Linked DNA regions of Homo sapiens: region 1 is linked to region 2. The links are contacts of gene promoters, found by promoter capture Hi-C in blood cells and fetal thymus (Javierre and others, 2016). All regions are on one chromosome and are shown on one strand. Each heading gives the region's core, a stretch centred on a gene start or on the middle of the fragment in contact. The rest is flanking DNA. Distances are from core to core; before and after follow the strand shown. Region 1 overlaps IFNAR2-IL10RB (IFNAR2-IL10RB readthrough). Region 2 holds the start of IFNAR1 (interferon alpha and beta receptor subunit 1).

What was found. The method cuts DNA at HindIII sites, captures the fragments that hold promoters and counts their contacts. A CHiCAGO score of 5 or more calls a contact.
Region 1: a fragment that was not itself captured here is called in contact with the fragment with the promoter of IFNAR1 in region 2 in 1 of 17 cell types (total B cells); the score reaches 5.1 in total B cells.

What each region holds. Positions count from the first base shown.
Region 1 is chr21:33,263,193-33,265,892 of GRCh38, reverse strand. All of the region lies in intron 7 of IFNAR2-IL10RB (IFNAR2-IL10RB readthrough), which reads right to left. IFNAR2 (interferon alpha and beta receptor subunit 2) reads right to left here. Exons shown (of 9, transcript NM_001289125.3): 9 at 229-2,700. The coding sequence ends at 2,393. IL10RB-DT (IL10RB divergent transcript) reads left to right here. Exons shown (of 2, transcript NR_038974.1): 2 at 1-261. Among named protein-coding and RNA genes, the nearest start is that of IL10RB-DT, 1.7 kb to the left of the region's middle. RefSeq lists an enhancer at 1-10. The HindIII fragment of the contact is 3,561 bases long and covers 1-2,700 here.
Region 2 is chr21:33,323,595-33,326,294 of GRCh38, reverse strand. IFNAR1 (interferon alpha and beta receptor subunit 1) reads right to left here and starts at 1,325. Exons shown (of 11, transcript NM_000629.3): 1 at 1,164-1,325. The coding sequence starts at 1,239. RefSeq lists cis regulatory regions at 1,336, 1,393-1,402, 1,893, enhancers at 497-1,398, 1,632-1,681, 1,902-2,111, 1,399-2,301 and promoters at 1,314-1,984, 1,338-2,621. The HindIII fragment of the contact is 6,325 bases long and covers 406-2,700 here.

The DNA.
Region 1 (2,700 bases), core at 201-2,700, 61 kb after region 2:
GGAAGATCCGGAGCTGTCCAGTGTCTTGGGTAATGCACGGCATCGCCTGATGTCTGACGCTAGAACACCACGTAAAGTCAAGCAGAGGGAAGTGAATGCGCCCTAGGCCCCTGCAGGCCACCAAGAAGAGCTAGAGGGAGTTGGTGCAATCCTAGAGATGCCGGCAGGTGCACCAATCTGTGGCACACGTACGCTCTCCAATGGAAGACAACTCAAGACCACACCAAGTTTGTATTAAAAAAGTACTGTTGTGTTACTTTTTACCAACCTCCAATCATTATACAAAATGTTAAAAAATACACAAACACACACACACACTCACAGCCATAGAGGTTATCGCAAAAGATCAACCCAGAATCTTTCAGAATATGACAGATGCACTGAGAAGGCAGATAAATTGATTCAATATACAAAAGGCCTCTTTCCTATGGAATTTCATTAGATTAAATAAGGTGTTCCCTCCTCACAGCCTCATCCTTATGAGCAATCATATAAATAATCTATTTAAAGTCCTTGAACTATAACTTGTATAATTTTTAGTTTTCCCCCTTTGAAGGGGCCTAAGAGAAAGGTTTGAGAAACCAGCTCTTGAGGGGGGCAGGGGTGAGGGGTAAGAGGTCCTGTGCCTTTCATTCATCCTGGGAGCTTCTCAGGATTGCAGCATTTCCACCTGAGTGTTCATTCTTGTACATTTTCTCATCTTTCTCCTGGGTTCCTAGGATCTTGGAGATTACCTAGTCCAATCCTTTTACTTCAGAAACAAAAAACCTGAGGCTCAGAAAGGCTAAGTCAAATGCCTAGGGTCACACAGGGAAACTGTGGGAGTTGGATCCCTGAGTCCCAGTCCTTAAACTGGTTGCTACATGACATTCTAGAACCTCTCCCCACCAACTCCCTTTTTAAAGACAGGGTCTGGTTCTGTCACCCAGGCTGAAGTGCAGTGACATGATCTTGGCTCACTGCAACCTCCGCTTCCTGGGCTCAAGCCATTCTCCCACCTCAGCCTCCCAAGTAGCTGGGACAACAGGCACATGCCACTACGCCCAGTTAATTTTTCTAATTTTGTTTTGTAGAGACAGATTTGCCATGTTGCCCAGGCTGGTCTCGAATTACTGGCCTCAAGCGATACGCCTGTTTAGGCATCCCAAAGTGCTGGGGTTACCGGCAGGAGCAATTGCTCCGGGCCAGACTTCCCTTCCCCCGCCCACACCCCCCCAACCCGGCCTAGATCCACAGGCACTGTAATCACAGCTGACACACTCGACTCGGAATCAGCATAGAGAGCACTCTGAAAATTGTCAAATAGGGTCCCTGAAACTTGTATACCATACTTCTCCTGAAGATCTTGAAGCATCTTTGTGTTTGCTTTTTTTTTTTTTAACTTAAAATATGGCATTCAGGTTTTATCCCTCTCCCCGACGCCATGTTTCCTTTCTGTATTAGTCACACACGTGATCCTAAAGTCTGTCTTCCCCACTTTAACTGGGGAGGGCTGGACAAGGTGGAATTCCAATTGCAGGAGACAGGATGTGACATGGGTGAGGTGCCCAAGGCTCACCGACTGAAACTTCGATGGCTCTTCCCTGTTTCCTTGTGCAGGGCCCCCCTTCTCTCCACTGCTCACCTGGCTCTCCTCCTCCCTTCCTGCCTGCTTTGCAGCTCTTGCTACTATTTTCCTTTTCTTTCCCTGCTCCCACCCTGGCCCAATTTATTTCACAGAAATATCACAGGGCCAGCCAGGCACAGCGGCTCACCCCTGTAATCCCAGCACTTTACGAGGCTGAGGAGGGCAGATCACTTGAGGTCAGGAGTTTGAGACCAGCCTGGCCAACATGGTAAAATCCTGTCTCTACTAAAAATACAAAAATTTGCTAGGCATGGTGGCAGGCGCCTGTAATCCCAGCTACTTGCGAGGGAGGCTGAGGCAGGAGAATCACTTGAACCTGGGAGGCGGATGTTGCAGTGAGCCAAGATCACACCATTGCGCTCCAGCTTGGGCGACAGAACGAGACTCTGTCTCAAAAAAAAAAAAAAAAAAGAACGAAAGAAGAGAAATATCATAGGGTCCTGGACCACCTCTGAAACTGTGGGGAACCCTGCTCCCTGGTAGACATGATGCAGAAACATCCTAAGTGCATTAGTGTAAAGGAAAGGTGCACATGTGCTTCCTTCAAAGTGCACCACTTTGAATATGTAAACAATGCACTGAATGATACTATGGTCCCCATACTGGGAATGTGCATAGGTGATGTCACCTGGAAGAAAGGAACACCACAGTTTCCTCCTCCTTCCCTTGGAGAACACTTGCAGACGATAAGGCAGCAAGTTAGGATGCAGAGACAAAGAACCCTGTAGGTGCTTGTCTGTCCAAGTTCATTCAATAGTTTTGGAGTCATCTCATTATATAACCATCCCCAAGGTCAACATCTGACTCAGAAGTGTCACTTTGATCAGATGGAGCATCTTCGGACCACAGGCCCTCTGAAGAGGGGCTGGGAAAGGTTGGCTGTGTCCCTTCCCCGCTGGCCAGCAAATGGTTTGATTGCACATTATCAGGATCCTCTGGGTCAACCATCTCTTCCAGATGAGACGATAGCATCAGAGGGGCTTCTAAGTCGTCACTGTCCTCGTCATCAAGAACTCTCAAAAACACAGAGTTTAAGTCCACATTGAAGGTAATTCTGCCCCCAGACCCCTCCG
Region 2 (2,700 bases), core at 76-2,575:
AGGCAGAGGTTGCAGTGAGCTGAGATCACGCCTCTGCACACCAGCCTGGGCAACAGGCTGTCTCAAAAAAAAAAAAAAAAAAGTATAAATAAAAATGTCTTCCCATATTTTGGACAGTTTTCTTAGTCTTGGGTCCTAGAATTGCATTTACTAGTTTAAAAAGTATGACTATTTTTATGACTTCTGAAAGACTGAGCAACATTACAATCTCATTGAGATAACATTTCATTGAGTTTTGAACATGATTATTTCTTTGGGAAAAAAGTAGGTAGTTAAGTAAACCAAAAATAAAATTCTAAGCCCCCCAACAATGTGAATGGACCTCTCCTCTCAACAAATGGCATTCCAAAGTTAATCTGAAAAACTAGTTCAGGCCTTCCACACTGACCATGTCAATTACAAGCTTATCTTCTCAGGTGCAAAACAAAGTCAAGACTCCATCTACCCAGAGGCATCTGCATAACTGACTCCCTTTACTCTCTTTTTCTCTTCAAGACACTCATGGTATCTTAAAATACAGATTTCTTGGGCACTAACTAAATTCTCACAGAACTATTTGCCTTACTGCCTTCCTGCCCCACCTCCTGAAAACCTCTGGAAAACCAGTCACAGACGTGTTTGTGGCTCACGTTTTTCCCGGATGCGCCCTGAAGCAGGCTTAGTAAACCTCGAGAACTGACAATTATGCTTCAGTCACTCCGACTGTCATTTTTTATTGGCCTGTATGAATCCTGAGGGCAGAGAAATCCTGGCCACACTTAGCTCACTCCCCCGTGGGACTGGGCGCCTATTCACCAGATTGAGGAAATGCATTTCGGGAAATGTTTTGTTTATTATCAAACAGACCAGCGGAGCCGCGGTACTTTCCCGGAAAGAATCAAACTCGACACAAAGCTCTGGCACCGCCATTTCACGGGGGTGGGACCCGGGCGCTCCCGAGGACCCGTACACGGCCACAGGCAAGCGGCAAGAGAGGACCCAGAACACCACTTTCTCCTGGTTGATTTGCGAGCCCAGGTCGGGTTTAATCTTTGGCGCGGCAAAGTGGACCGAAGGTTTCCCAGACTGGGCGTCTGTCGCCCCCAACAGCATCGCCGCCCCCGTAGCCCAGCTGCGTGCCCTACCTCCCGCCCTGCGCCAAGACTCTCCTCCCCGCCTCTCACCTGCGGCTGCGGACAACACCCATGGCGCCACGGCGACGAGCACTAGGGTCGTCGCGCCCAGGAGGACGACCATCATCTGGGAGCCGCCGCAGATCCCACCAGTTACATGTTCGCGCACGCGCAGCTCCTCTCAGCCGCCATCGCCCCGTCCTAAGTCACACCGCCCCTCTGCACACGCGCTGCCCCTCTTAGCTCTCACCGCCCCTCTACGCACGCGCCGCCTCTTCTGACACACACACCGCCCCTCCGCGCACGCGCCGTTCCTCCACGCACGCGCCTTTCCTCCTAGCTAGCACCCCTTCTCCAAGCTCCCATTGCCCCATCCTAATTGCAGCACCCCTGTGCGCGCGCGCCTTAGAAATCGCAGGCCTCCTGCATTCTCTTCTTCCTCACTCTTTCCGGCCTATGGCCGGTCTGGAGCACTTCACCATCGCATTCCAGGACGACTCCCCCTCACAGGAGGCCTTGACCTTCACAGGATCGCGGCACACACCTGCGCAGACCCAGCGACTTTGGAGTTCCCGCGTCTCTTCCCCATGTCTGCAGTCGGAGGGCGCGGGTGGGCTCCTGGTCGCGGCCCGGCGCTCTTCGTCCTCGCCCTTCTCCGCCCGGGGCGCTTGCTGACCCTAGAGTCTTGGACAGTGGCGTTGGGAGTCCCCAGCGGCCTGGGAACCAGATGAGGCTGGAAGGAGGAAGTGGCTGAGCGACCAGACCGTTGCTGTGTGCAGAGCGAGAGCGGGGCAGAGGCGGTCGAGCGCTCGTTTTCCGGGCGACTTGGCTGAGGGGCGAGATGGTCCCTTGGAGAGAACAGCCACGGGCCCTGGGCCGAGGGGCTCCAAACAGCAGTCGCTAGGCTGTTTTGGTCGTCGGGCTTTATCAGTAAACAATTCGAGCCCATGGTTCGAATGATTATTTAATTAAATTCCTCAGTAATAGATCCAGTGCATTGTGAAAATATGCGAAATAAAATTTAAATGATGAGATAAAATAAGGAATCAAATACTTCGTTGTTATAACAACCAAGCAATTAATTAGCAATTACATAATTAAATGAATGTTTGTAAAGAACAATGCAATGGAATATATATGTATTCCATCTATATATTCCATCTCTATATTCCATCTATATATTCCATCTCTATATCCCATCACTATATTCCATCTCTATATCCCATCTCTATATTCCATCTCTATATCCCATCTCTATATTCCATCTCTATATCCCATCTCTATATCCCATCTCTATATTCCATCTCTATATTCCATATCTATTCCATCTCTATATTCCATATCTATTCCATCTCTATATTCCATATCTATTCCATCTCTATATCCCATCTCTATATTCCATCACTATATCCCATCTCTATATCCCATCTCTATATCCCATCTCTATATCCCATCTCTATATCCCATCTCTATATCCCATCTCTATATTCCATCTCTATATTCCATCTCTATTCCATCTCTATATTCCATATCTATTCCATCTCTATATTCCATATCTATTCCATCTCTATATTCCATCTCTATATTC